Regions from separate parts of the Homo sapiens genome. Here all the other regions are linked to region 5. The links are contacts of gene promoters, found by promoter capture Hi-C in blood cells and fetal thymus (Javierre and others, 2016). All regions are on one chromosome and are shown on one strand. The core of a region is centred on a gene start or on the middle of the fragment in contact, and the rest is flanking DNA. Distances in the headings are between cores, read along the strand shown. Region 1 overlaps CHCHD6 (coiled-coil-helix-coiled-coil-helix domain containing 6). Region 2 has its middle 21 kb from the start of TXNRD3. Region 3 has its middle 5.1 kb from the start of CHCHD6. Region 4 holds the start of TXNRD3 (thioredoxin reductase 3). Region 5 holds the start of CHST13 (carbohydrate sulfotransferase 13).

Region 1 (2,700 bases), core at 67-2,566, 230 kb after region 5:
AATAGACCTTTCCCAAGCAGCTACTCTGGTTGCCTCCTGGCTCTTCCCTTTCCTTGCCATAGAGTGTCTTGGAATCACAGTGGTAGTCATAATCTTTCTTCTCAAACTCATTACAATTTGGCGTGATCTCAGAAATTACCATGATTGGCTGGGTGCAGTGGCTCACGCCTGTAATCCCAGCACTTTGGGAAGCCAAGGCGGATGGATCACCTGAGGTCAGGAATTCGAGACCAGCCTGGGCAACATGGTGAAACCCCATCTCTACTAAAAATACAAAAATTAGCTGGGCGTGGTGGTGGGCGCTGGTAATCTCAGCCACTTGGGAGGTTGAGATAGGAGACTTGCTTGAACCCGGGAGGCGGAGGTGGCGGTGAGCCGAGATTGTGCCACTGCACTCTAGCCTGGGCAACAGAGTGAGACTACATCTCCAAAAAAAAAAAAAAAAAGAAAGAAAAGAAATTACCATGATCTTCTTTCCAACAAATCTGATAACTTTCCTTCTTCACATTTCCTTCAAGGGGTATTTATCACCAAGTAGCTACTCTTCCTTTAAATGTCCCTTCTGTGAGCCTCTGTGCCTTAGCTATCCTGCCCCCTTTCTGCATGCTCCATCCATCCATTCAAGACATGTTCCCTGAGCAGGGCTGCAGCCCGGGCTGGGCTGGCCATCCAGAAGTGACCCGATCCTGACCCTACTGGAGCCCCTGGTCCAGTTGGAGAAACAGATGTCAAACAAGTAACTATTACCAGCTGAGATAAGCATACTGCTGCAGAGAGAGAGAGAGTGATAGTGATGCCCTAATTTAGATTGAGGTCAGCTAATGCTTCTCTGAGGAGTGGACATGTGAGCCGCGACCTAGAGGGTAAGTGGGAAGGAGACAAAGAATGAGGAGGGGGAGCTCTGCAGTTTGTGGGGAGTGTGCCCCGGCCTGGGTGGTAGAGAGTTCAGTGAGTGAATGCAGCTGCCAGCAAGAAGGGTGTGAACAGTGGGTGGGGACTCATGGGCATGGCAGGAAACTGGGTTTGAGAAGCAGCAGGGAGCATGTGAAAGGTTTTCATAGAGATTCTGGGGAAGATGGCAGAGTGGGCAAGAGCAGAGGCAGGGGAATCAACAGGACTCCCAAGGGCCCTTCAGAGAGATCATGGTGACCCAGACAAAGGACAGTGACAGTATCTGGGGGAAGAATTATGTGGAGAAAGAAATGACACATTTGGTGAGGATGGGGGCTGTGGGGTGAGAAAGAAGGAGGTGTTGAGAATGACTCTTGGGTTTCTGGCCTGAGCCAGATGCCCTTTTTTGACAAGGAGATGCCTAGACTCCTCTCTGGCCTCCCTACCTCTGGGTCCTTCTATCAGTTATGGTCTAGATTGAGCTGCTGTAGCAGAGAGGCCCCCAGATACAGTAGCATAAATAAGAAAGACATGTTTCTCTTTCATGGAACTGTCTAAAGGTAGTCCAAGACTGGTGGGAGCTCTGCCAGCCTCAGCAGCCTTGGGTGCAAACTGTTTGCTCCATTTCTCTTCAGTTCCTGACCAGTGCGAAGGGGACACGGGCCATGTGAGTGCATTCCCGTTTGGCTCTTTTATGGGCAAGACCAGAACTGGGCTCCATCATTTCTGGACATACCCTGTTGGCCAGAAGATAGTCACATGACCACTGCTAGTGACAGGTTGTTTAGGAAATGTCTAGACAGTGTAGCTGGATGCCCAGCCAAAGCTCCATACCAAAGAATGGCTATGGGGGGACAATTGGAAATCCACCACTGTTGTTTGTTGCCTCCTCATTACCTCTTGAAAACACCCACATCCACCTTGGCCCGACGTCTGTTCAGGACCTCTGTTCTCTAGATGCTGGTTGGCCACACCTTTCCTGGTGCCTTCAGGGACCTCAAACTGAGGACATCCAGTACAGAACCTGTCTTCTCTCCATACCTGGGCTTGAATCATTTACAAAACATTGCGCAATTGGGATAGCTGCTCAGTTCTCCATAGTTAGCAGTGGAGGGGTCCTCGAGAAGGCACAATGCTGTCAATTCTGCCCAGACATTCATGGGGGTTGCTTCTGGGGACCAAGCAGGGAATATCCCACAGAGTCGTCTTTGACTATTTTCTCCTAGTGCTCATCTGGCCTTCCAGGCAGCTGACCTCAGGGCTTCCACTGAGACCCCAGATGTGCATGTCTCTGTTTGGAAGATGATCTGTTAAGATGCCACCCATGGCAAAGCAGACAGCTCTTCCCCTGGCTGGCTGTCCAAAGTATGGCCCTGGCCAGACCTCAGATGGGGGCAGTGTTTTCTACCAGATCAGACAGAATCGGAGAGAAGTGCTCCAGAGTTGGCGACTCCCTCCTGGGAATTGCTTCAGGATAAGGACTGAGATGGAGGTCAAGCCAGCGTGGCCTTTGGTGCTAGAGGGTCTGCTAGGGGCAGGCCTTGGTTGGGCATGGCTGCCTCTAGGCCTGAGTCTTGAGTGCCTGGATACCCCTAGCATGTGAGGCAAGTTCCCAGAGCTTTCTCCCAAGCCTCCCTGTAAATGAGCAGACCCACCTAGCTTTAATGCTAATTCCTTTTGCAATGAGCCTGAACTTCCTTGTTTCCCAGTTAAAGCCAGCCCATTAACACTGCCCCATCTGTCACCATAAATGGAAAGTTTTTCTAACAGGTGGGCAGGCAGTTCTCCCATGCTAATGAGGAATCGATG
Region 2 (2,700 bases), core at 11-2,510, 150 kb after region 5:
AAAAATTGAAAATCAGTTTTTAAAAATTAGATTGGTTTTAATTTTCTCTTTAATGCAACAGTTATTTAGGAGGTATGTTTAAATATTTTAAAGGGATAGTTTTTTTTGTCACTGTTGATGCTACACTTTATTGGGAATTTTCAAATTTATTATCGTATAGACCAAAAACATGGATTCTCTGATTTCTATTTATAAATTATTAAGATCTTCTTCACAGTTTAACAGCAATTATCATTTTCTGCCAATGCTTCTTAACTGTTTGAAAAGAATGTGCATTTTCAACATGTTGCATACAAAGTAGAAGCTTGAAATTGTGTCATTTACATTGCAGAGCCCGTACTTATTTCTTGTTTCCTTTATATGTCAATTTCTAAGAGGGGTGTGTTAAAAATCTACCACTATGGTTACAGATTTGTTAATTGTTCAATCTATTTACTCATATATGTTTTGGACAATGTGGTTGGCTTCCTCAGAATTTGTTCCACCTCTTCTATATTACATCATTTCCAAGTGTTTGGGATATTATTGAGTCTTTTCACACCACAATGAGCTATCATAATCTTGGATAATTGAAGAATTTCTCCCCTTTATTCCAATTTATTTCAAAATTTTGTACATAAGCCAAATCTAAGTCAACCAGTCCCTCTCATCCCCTTGGCTGGCCACATTGATTAGTTCAGCCATGGTCATATGACCTAATTTTGTCCATGAAGATTTAGCCCAGGAATTGTTTTTTATTGATTGAAATGAGAGATATCTCTCAGACTACATGCTAATAGGGAAATGTTTGACTCCAGTTGCTTCATCAGCCATCCTCTGATCATGAGGAGAGACTGCAGAAGATGAAATTAATGCCCTGCCTGAAAGCAAGCATGAGAAAAATAAGGAAACCGGGTCTCTGGGAATGTCATTCAGCCACTGGATCAGACTCACCTGACAGCTGCTCTATCTTTGGACTTTTGTGGTCCATTGAATTCCCTTAATTATGTAAGCCAGCTTGAGTTGCATTTTTCTGTTACTTGCAACCAAAGCATCTTAACAAATAAATATATTTCAAGGTTCTAATATTAGGTGAAGAAAAATTCATGACTCACAATGTCTTAATGAATTATATTTTTTCATAAAATATTATTCTTTGTCCTAGTTAATTAACACTTTAGTCCTTAAATTTTATTTTTTTCTAAATACTACCATGGCCAAATCTACTTTCTTTTGTTGGTATTTGCATACCTATCTTTTTCTATGCTTCTCAATGTAAATTTGTCTTTTTCTTCTATATATATCTCTTAGGATAGGATATGGCCTAGTTAGTCACCTTTTATGTCTTAGAAGTTCTTGATTAATTGAAGACAGGTACAAGAAATCAGATGATAAAGCCAAGAACATATTGCAACAGAAGCAGATTCATGGTTGCCTTGGGCTGGCGGTGTTGGAGGGGTGAGAAAATAGGGAGGGGGAGAATGGGAAGTGATGGCAAGGGGTTATAGAGTTCATCATTTTGAGTAATATAAATGTTCTAAAATTGATTGTGGTGATTGATGCACCTTTCTGCGAATATGCTAAAAGCCATTGAGTTGTACACTTTCAATGGGTGAATTGTATGGTATGTGAATTGTATCTTGAAGCTGTGAAAAAAGAAGATATTGAATACATAAAACAAGAATAGGATGCTATGGAGAAGAAGCAATTACAAAGCCAGAAAATAACTCTTGTAAATTTGAAGTATTATTGTCAAAATGTGTGTGTGTATATGTGTGTGTGTGTGTGTGTGTGTGTGTATGTATATACATATTTAAGCATCTTATGTTGCATTTTTCTGTTACTTGTAATATTATAGTAATATTTGAAAAAAATACATATACACATTTATTTGTATACACACATGTGCATATATATCTATCTCTATATGTATAATAAAATTTCCCACAGTATGGGACAATTAGGTAAAAAGGTTTTAAAAAATGAGAGAAAATATAAGAAACCAAGAAAATCAATCCATGAGGTTGAAATGCCTAATAGACTCAAAAATAGAGGACAGAGAGAAAGGGGCATAAATAGTAAAATAATAATATAATAATAGAAGACAATTTCCCAGAACTGAAGCACCTGGGTCTTCAGTTTGAAGGGAACTCAAATGCCCAGCATAATGAATAAAAAAAGGCCCATGGGACATCAGCACAAAATTCCAGAATATCAAGAATAGTGGAAATATCCTACAAGCTTCCAAAATAGGTGGATGCAGGGAAGGGACATTTTGGCATCAGCTGCCTCATCAGGTACTCAGGCTGCCAGAAGAAAGTGAGGACTGTCTCCAAATTTCTGGGGGAAAGGAATTTTGAACCTATACATCTAGGACAAGCCAATGTTTAAAGGCAAATAGATCTTTTCAGATCTGAAAGGACTCAAGGTTGACCTTGCACACATTTTGAGAAATTATTTGGGGTTTCTCTCCACCAAAAAGGGGATGCACCTTGAGGAAGGGCTCCAAGAAGAAAGTGAGTCCATCCCAGAAGGATAAGGAGTAGCAGTCCTTGGGTGACAGCCAAATAGCAGTTAGAGAGTGACTGATCCAAAGAGAAGGAGCGAATTGTCCAGGAACAAACCAGAGACTATAGAGCAGCCTCTCCTCCTTGGTGGGGGGAGTTTGCCCAGCAGAGCCTATCCTCAGCTTATTTCCAGGGTCTGCAAGGGTGACTTTCC
Region 3 (2,700 bases), core at 132-2,631, 180 kb after region 5:
TTACAGGTGTGAGCCACTTCACCTGGCCTCCTTCGTCTTTTTTAAGCTACCTTTTTTTTTTTGTTTTATTTCCTATGACATTGACCTTTTGGAAGAGTCCAGGCCAGTTGTTTCCTAGGATGTTCCTGGATTTGTCTGACTGTGTCCTCACCATTAGATTCAGGTTACACTTTTGACAAGAATACTGCACTGGAGATGTTTTGTGTTCCTCATTGTATCACTTGGGGAGGGACATTGTGCCAGATGGTCCCACTATTTGAGATGCTAAATTTGGTCATTTGGTTAAGGTAGTGACTGCCAGATGTCATCATTGTAATATGGTTTTCCCTTTGTAATGAATAAATCTGTCGTTGGGTGGAAGGGAAGGTGTTGTGACAGGTCCACTCATGGCTGCCTAGCACCCGGTCCCCCCTTCCCTGCAACAGAACCCCAATTTCCTTTGGGGCAGAAAAAATTCAGCACAGATGTCTTGGTGGCCCTCTGAATACTCAGTGGCTGTCAGGCCCTGTGGCCAGGCATGATGGCTCATGCCTGTGATCCCAACACTTTGGGAGGCCAAGGTAGTCCCAGCACATTGGGTGAATAGCCTGTCCCCCAACAATTTTTCCACTCAATGGCTTTAGTATCCTTTGATGATTTTTGCCTCAGTTAATCCTCTGAAGGTGGCAAAGTGGCAATTTAAAAAAATCTCAAATGCCCGCTGTACTGGTTAGCTGGCATTTTTGTGTAAAGAAGAATTTCCTTACCCTCTTTCCTATTCTCTCTGTTGCTGTCTCCCTCTCTTCCTCCCTCTCACTAGAATAGGCTAATGGATTTAAATCAATTAAATGTGCTATAAGCCATTACTCTTTCTATTCTTCTTGATGTTCAAATTGTCCTGCATTTGGCCACTGGGAGCCTAGGAGGCAATTTTTTCTAATTGGGCACATGCCTGCACCTCAGGAAATTGGGGTTCTGTTGTAGGGAAGGGGAAACTGGGTGCCAGGTAGCCATGAGCAGACCCGTCACAACACCTTCCCTCCCCAGAGCCTCAGTTTTTTGGGCCTTAGAACAGGGTAATAAAACTCCTGGCACAAGGAACTTACTCAAAAAGCTCTGCTTCCCTCCCCCTCCTTTCCTTCACGTCCCTTGCCACTGCCTTTATCCTCCTCCTACTTTGGATCAATAATGTTGCATTATCTTCACCTGCTTGCTCCTCGGTTTTCTCATCTGTGAAGTGGAGATAAAGAATATACTGGGTTGTCATGAGGCTTACCTATGCTGCTGTAAGTCTGTGGAATTTCAAGACTCCCCAAGGATTCTTCACAGTGGGAGTGAGGCCACACAGAGTCTCATGGTCACCCTTGGCTCTCACTCGTTTTGCTAAATTAGCTCAGCACAGATGTCTTGGTGGCCCTCTGAATACTCGGTGGCTGTCCGGCCCCATGGCCAGATGCGGTGACTCACCCCTGTAATCCCAGCACTTTGGGACGCCAAGGTGGGAGGGTTGCTTGAGCCCAGGAGTTCAACACCAGCCTGGGCTGGGCAACATAGCGAGATCCAGTCTCTATTTTATATATATATATGCCAGGTGTGGTGGCATGCACCTATAGTCTTGAGAGGCAGGAGGATTCCTTGAACCCAGGAGGTCAAAGCTGCTGTGAGCTCTTTTCATGCCACTGCACTCCAGCCTGGGCAACAGAGTGAGCCCATGTCTCAAAAAAATTTTTTTTAATTGACAAAGATTATATATATTTAAAGTATAAAATGTGATGGTTTGATATACATATACATTGTGTAATGCTTATCACAATGAAATTAACACATCATTCACCATCCATGCTGTGCATTCGATCCTCAGAACTTGTTCATCTTTTTTTTTTTTTTTTTTTGATTTGGAGTCTCGCTCAGTCACCAGGGCTGGAGTGCAGTGGTGAGGTCCTGCTCACTGGAACCTCCACCTCCCAAGTTCAAGCGATTCTTCTGCTCAGCCTTCCAAGTAATTGGGATTACAGGCATGTGCCACCATGCCCGGCTAATTATTTTTTGTATTTTTAGTAGAGATGGGGTTTCACCATGTTGGTCAGGCTGATCTCAAACCCCTGACCTCAAATGATCTGCCTGCCTCAGTCTCTCAAAGTGCTGGGATTACAGGCGTGAGCCACTGTGCCTGGCCAGAACTTGTTCATCTTATAACTAAAGTTTGTACCCTTTGACCATTTCCCCATGCCCCCACTTCCTAATCCCTGGTAACCAATGTTCTATTCTGCTTCTATGAGTTCAACTTTTTTAGATTCCACATATAAGTGAGATCATACAGTATTTGTCTTTCTGTGCCTGGCTTATTTCACTTAGCAAAATGTCCTCCAGGTTCGTCCATGTTGTCACAAATGGCAGGATTTCCTTTTTTATGGCTGGATAAAACACGCGTGTGTGTGTGTGTGTGTATGTATATATATGTGTGTGTAAAACATTTTATCTGCTCATCTGTTGATGGACACAGGTTGTTTCCATATTTTGGGTATTTTGAATAATACTACAATGGACATGGGGGAGCAGATATATTTTCAAGATTTCATTTCCTTTAGATATATACTGTTAAAGGAAAAACTTGAGACTGATTAAAGAGTTTGAGAAAAGGACAAGTTACAAATCAGGGAGCCCCCCAAATCAGAATAGCTTCAAAGAGACTTCAGTGCTGCCAGTGGGGTTGGAGAGGAT
Region 4 (2,700 bases), core at 183-2,682, 130 kb after region 5:
TTCAAGATACCTATTCTAGAGTTAAGTCTTTTATAAATGCGCTGGGAGTTACGTGCAAGAATAAACATATAGCTGTACTGTTTTTTAAGACCAAAATACCAAAAACAGCAGAATGATAAACTCCGGTACGATTCATCCCAGGGAATAGTCAGCAACGAAAATTAATGAACCCCAGCTACAGATACTAACATGCATGAATCTCTGAAACATAACTGTTGAGGAAGAAAACTGCAGAAGAATACCTATGTATGTATGGTTCTATTTATATCAAGTCCCAAAACAGGCCAAAAGGAACCAAATATTGATGAATAATATATATATTTGGTAAAAATGTAAAAAAAAAAAAAGGAAATTTTGCATAGTGGTTAACCCTGAGGGAGGGAGGAGACAGCCAAGGAAGCTTCTACAGTACTAGTGTCACTTTATTATTCTTAAAAATATATATGCATAATATATGTTTTAAGAAACTATACACATCAATGTAAACTTCAAATATATTTGAAAAACACAGCCTATAATTTCATGAACTCAACCCAATAGTTTATGCTTTTGCATACTGTCTTCCACGTATCATTTTTCAACTTTCTGTAAAATGAAGTAAATTCCTAAACGTTGAAAGTCTGTACCTTACACGTAGGTTATCACCCAAAGGCTCGTTTCTAAGTGAAGTATTCTTAAACACAGAATACATTTGTCCTTAGAAATAATGCCGGATTCCTAGTCCGCCCCGAAAAGTTAAGGCAGTGTGCATGAAGCTGAAATTACCTCAGTCGTCCTAACAACCTTCCCGTACCTTCGTTTCACAAACGGGGGAACTGAGGCTCTGCACAGGGTCCTAACCCGGGTCGAGGTCACGCAATTAGGAGAGTTTCTGTTTTGATAAACTATCACAAGCCCACCTCAGGGGACGACCGGGGAGAGGAGAGGACGGACGGCTGACCTCACCGCCGCAGCCCGGGACCCGCGGGCGCCCCGGCCCGGACCCGCCCTGCCCCGGGTGGCGTCCGCGTGGCGGGCCCGGTCGCGCGCGGTGGAACCGGCGAGGGCCGCGCCTACCCGAGTACTATGGGGACAGTAGCTCTTGCTGAAGATCACCACCCGGCTGCGCTCGATGAGGCCCACGAGGTGGCGGCGCAGCTCCTCGCGGGCCTCGGACGAGCGGCTGGGCCCGGGGGACGACAGGCGGGCACGGCGCCCCGGCGGCGACAACACGCGCGCCCCTCGGACATGGCCCGAGCGGCGGTTGGGGGCATCGCCCGCCTTTCCCGGCCCGGGCGACTGCGGCGGCGACCGCTCCAGAGTCTCGCTCTCGCTCCTGGCCCGGCCGGGCCTGCTCACAAACCGAAACGCAGGCGGCTGCGGCGCCGGGACGGGGCCTGAGGGGCGGCGAACGCTGCCCTCGCTGGCCACTCTCACCACCCGCGCGAATCCGCGAGGCAGCCGCTCGCCCCGCCCCCCAACACCGCCCCGCGCATGCGAAATTGGGTCCCCCGCCCGCCCGCAGCCTAGGTGTCACCTGCCCTTCGCAAAGGGGCGGGTACCAAGCGCGAGCCTCTTTATCTCCAGGTTGTGCCTGCGTCCGGAGACCACCCAATCTTGGCGATGGCGCTCTGAGATGGCCTCTGTGCAATGCCTTTTACTCCTAATAATCCCCAACAGCCCCTTTAAACCACCTTAAAATATACGTTCTTCAATTTTTATGGGAAGTGTGAATTGGAAAGATTGATATTTTTAAAAGTTTAGATCACACAAGCTAAATAAATATATTGCGTTTGCTATTGCAATGCAGCTTTAATGAGTTTCCTAGGTTGCTACCCGTCAGTTCCCTTCTACATAGAATTCCAGAGCCGCCCCTAACAAAGGGACTCTGAAACCGCGAGAAGAGGAATCCTCTGTCCATTTCGGTGGATGAGTGGAAGACCTCGGAGCTGAACTTGCCTGCAGTGACTGAGTTAGCCGGTCATGGTGGCGGGTGCCTGTAGTCCCAGCTACTTGGGAGGCTGAGGCAGGAGAATGGCGTGAACCTGGGAGGCGGAGCTTGCAGTGAGCCGAGATGGCGCCACTGCACTCCAGCCTGGGCAACAGAGCGAGACTCCGTCTCAAAAAAAAAAAACAAAACCAAAAACAAAAACCTGGAGTTTCCTTCTTCTCAACAATTCTTTACATTTCAGTTAAGTCCTCTAGGCGGAACCCATGCAATAACCAGAGCAGGGGAAGGAGCCTAGTAGGTACTTTATGCTTTTTGTTAACCTGTGCACTCAGCGATGCTGGAGTGCCTGTCATGTGCCAGATACTGTGCTGGGCGCTGCGGATTTGGCAGAGAATGAGGCTGGCCGCCCTGCTCCTATGAGGTGTGGCTGCGTCTCTCCATCTCCTGGGTCCCATGAGGCACAACCAGTCATGGGGCCATTGTTCAGGTGAGGACACATGTCCAGGATGAGGGGGGAGTGTGTGGAAGCTACGGGCCTTGAAGTCAGGTGCATCCTCCTTTTCCCTGAGACTAATCTGTGGACATGACCCATGTCCCCAGCCGTCGCCCTCAGGGAGGTCGCAGGGCTGGCCGGGTCCCTGCGTGAAGTTTCATCTAGCACCCAATCACAGTGCCTGTGATTTTCACATTAGCTTGGGTCCTCCTCTTTGAGCCGTGAGGGGGAGTAATCAGGGGCACAGACCATGACACTCTTGCATGGCACAGCCTGG
Region 5 (2,700 bases), core at 22-2,521:
CAAATTAATTACTAATATCAAATACTTACCTGGCACTCACTGAGTGCCAGACACTGTTGCAAACATTTCCTGTATCTCATTTAATCTTCACAGCACTGAGGTTTAGGATTATCCCCCCGTACAGGAAAATGGGAAACAGAGAGGTGCAGTTAATTTCCTAATCTCCCACAGCAGTAAGCGGCACCAGGTGGGTTTGGAGTCACCACATTTTTCAAGAACAGTTTAACAACTGGAGCTTCGAGTGTGGAATAATAGACACTGGAGACTTGGAAGGGTAGGAGAGTGAGCGAGGTGGGAGGGATGAGGAATTACTTAATGGGTACAATGGACATTATTTAGGTGATGGTTACACGGAAAGCCCAGACCTCACCACTGCATATCTCCATGTAACAAACCTGCACTTGTGTCCCTTACATTTATACAAAAAACTCCAAAAAAAACCTACAGTGTAATGTAGTACCCTATCCCATGCACTCACACTGCTAAATGTTGTTTCCAACGCACTCATCCGCGCACCCAGTGCCAGCTGCACCCTCCCGTTCCCTGCTAGCCTGACTTCTGGGCAGCAAGACCCTGCGGTTAGACGTGGGCTCCTGCCCACAGGGCTAGCTGGATGTGTGTGTCTTTCAAAGGCTGGACTTTACTCTCACCTCGCCCCCTCCACCCCCCAACACACACACACACACACACACACACACACACACACACAGTCCCTGGCAAGTCCTCAGAGCTCACGTGGTGCCCAGAGAAGTTGTGGGTGACACGATGAGGCACAAGCTCCATTCCCCGGGGGATGTAAGCTGAGACCCTACCTCTCTGTGCAAAGGCTAGTGCCACCTGCATGAGCTAGATTCAGGCAGGACCTGGAGACCCTGGAGGAAAGCAAGGCTGCAGGGTAGCCTTGGGTCGGGGAGGGAGGGACACTCTTAGGCCTCTTACTGAGGGCGGGGGTCCCGGAGAGCCATGGACAGGGCAACGCTCTACTAGGCTCCTTGGTTCATCCCAGATCAGCCCTTGGGCCCCTGGCATCTAAGGCAGCAAAAAGGCAAGGGGACACCGCCCGGGGTGGGGCACGCCACCGCGACAATGCCTCTTGGCCTTGGGTGGATAATGGCACCCCTGGGCAAACCCTAGGGGCGGGGCCCAGAGGCGAGGGGCTTCCCCAATCAGTCTCCGCCCTAGCGCCCTGGACTTCGGCCCCATTCCATTGGGTGAGGGTGGGGGCACGAAAAGAGGAGCGGGCTTGCGGCCCCACCGTGTCCCGCCTCCTCAGTCCCCAGCGACTCGCAGGGGCTGGTGGGGCTGGGGTCCAGCTGCCGTGCTCCCCTGCCCTGCGCCGCGCCGCGCGTCTTGGTAGGCGCTGCGCTGCCGGGGCCGGGTCCTGGGCCAGTGCAACTCCGCCCCCAGCCGTATCCAGCGGACTGTCCTCCGCCGCGCGCCCGGCACAGCATGGGGAGGCGCTGCTGCCGGCGGCGCGTGCTGGCGGCCGCCTGTCTGGGCGCCGCGCTCCTGCTCCTATGCGCCGCGCCCCGCTCCCTGCGCCCGGGTGAGTGCCCGCCGGCCGAGCCGCGCACCCCCAACCAAACCTGGCTCCTCGCGCTTTCCACCGCGGCCTGACCCCTCGACAGCGCGGGGGACACCTGTTGTCTCCTTCCTGGCTGGGGCTAGGGGTGGCGGGCAGGGGCGCTGGTGAGGCACAGAAAGGCTCTAGACGCCCCCGCGAGCAAAGGCTCTTGCTCCTCCTCCGGAGTTACCTCCCCACTCCCAGAGCGGTGACTGTTTTGAGTCCCACAGCCGGTGCCTGGAGACCGGGGTCAGTTGTGGGGGGTAGAGGACAATTGGCCAATCCGGGAAGGCCATCTCCCTTACCTTCACCCCCTTCCCCTGCGCACCCCACGGCCCCTGGACATGAGCGCTGCTGGGCGCATGCGCATAGGAGGGGAAGCTTGGGCCACTCGGTCCGGTCCCTTGGTTGTCCTACTGTGCAGTGGGTGCCACTCCCTGCTCCACCCTGAAATCCACACTGGGTAGGGCTTGGGACTCCTGTGCACCCACTCGTGGTCTGGCTGGGGAAACTGAGGCAGTTAGTCATGACTCCGCAGAGCTGAGTGCCCTGGGCTCCACCGGTGCTGAGTCTTTGCTCTGAGTCTCTCCTCAGCTCATGTGAAGCCTCCCATCAACCCATTTCACACAATCTGAAGCGGGCCAGAGAGTGGGGAGACAGGTGTGGTGGCAACGTGCTGGCTATACAATCTACTTGGGACTGGAGGGGCCCAGCCAGCGCCCGGGTCTCCTGACCTCAGGGCTGTTTGCCTTTCCTTGTATGTGGTATGCGTGCTGGGTGGGACGACTCAGTCCGCCTCCCCACCCCCAGTGTGGGCTCTGAGAATCCTGGGCCCCACCCTTGGAACCTGGCAGACACAGTCCCAGGGAGTAAGTAACTAGGTCCAGGGTGGGCGGGGATGTTGGGCAGTGGGGGTGGGAGTGGCCCAAGACTTGAGGATATCAGGGCCTGGGGAGGCCTCTGCCCACTCCCCCTGACCCTCACACTGCCCCTTGCCCCTTGTGTGTCCAGACACAGCAGGTCAGACCTGGATGCCTCCCCAAGCCCATGGGATAGGGCTGGGGTGTCTCTTTCCAGCACCCCCACAACCCCTTCTGTGAGCTGTCTGGTGGTGTTGAGCAGACAATCTCCTGGCA

What was found. Contacts are between HindIII fragments. The CHiCAGO score rates a contact against its expected background, and 5 or more counts as called.
Region 1: a contact is called between a fragment that was not itself captured here and the fragment with the promoter of CHST13 in region 5, in 1 of 17 cell types (megakaryocytes). The highest score is 5.4, in megakaryocytes.
Region 2: a contact is called between a fragment that was not itself captured here and the fragment with the promoter of CHST13 in region 5, in 5 of 17 cell types (megakaryocytes, M2 macrophages, M0 macrophages and 2 more). The highest score is 10.3, in megakaryocytes.
Region 3: a fragment that was not itself captured here is called in contact with the fragment with the promoter of CHST13 in region 5 in 1 of 17 cell types (megakaryocytes); the score reaches 5.7 in megakaryocytes.
Region 4: a contact is called between the fragment with the promoter of TXNRD3 here and the fragment with the promoter of CHST13 in region 5, in 5 of 17 cell types (megakaryocytes, M0 macrophages, M2 macrophages and 2 more). The highest score is 15.5, in megakaryocytes.

Annotation. Positions count from the first base shown.
Region 1 is chr3:126,748,167-126,750,866 of GRCh38, forward strand. The region is part of intron 4 of CHCHD6 (coiled-coil-helix-coiled-coil-helix domain containing 6); the gene reads left to right. Among named protein-coding and RNA genes, the nearest start is that of CHCHD6, 45 kb to the left of the region's middle. RefSeq lists an enhancer at 2,374-2,700. The HindIII fragment of the contact is 4,734 bases long and covers 1-2,700 here.
Region 2 is chr3:126,674,346-126,677,045 of GRCh38, forward strand. No RefSeq gene overlaps it. Among named protein-coding and RNA genes, the nearest start is that of TXNRD3, 21 kb to the left of the region's middle. The HindIII fragment of the contact is 1,916 bases long and covers 303-2,218 here.
Region 3 is chr3:126,697,833-126,700,532 of GRCh38, forward strand. No RefSeq gene overlaps it. Among named protein-coding and RNA genes, the nearest start is that of CHCHD6, 5.1 kb to the right of the region's middle. The HindIII fragment of the contact is 4,094 bases long and covers 1-2,700 here.
Region 4 is chr3:126,653,692-126,656,391 of GRCh38, forward strand. It overlaps TXNRD3 (thioredoxin reductase 3), which reads right to left and starts at 1,433. Exons shown (of 16, transcript NM_052883.3): 1 at 1,057-1,433. The coding sequence starts at 1,299. The HindIII fragment of the contact is 4,771 bases long and covers 399-2,700 here.
Region 5 is chr3:126,522,884-126,525,583 of GRCh38, forward strand. CHST13 (carbohydrate sulfotransferase 13) reads left to right here and starts at 1,272. Exons shown (of 3, transcript NM_152889.3): 1 at 1,272-1,546. The coding sequence starts at 1,450. RefSeq lists enhancers at 596-1,096, 1,097-1,597, 1,658-2,158, 2,159-2,659. The HindIII fragment of the contact is 2,161 bases long and covers 1-1,943 here.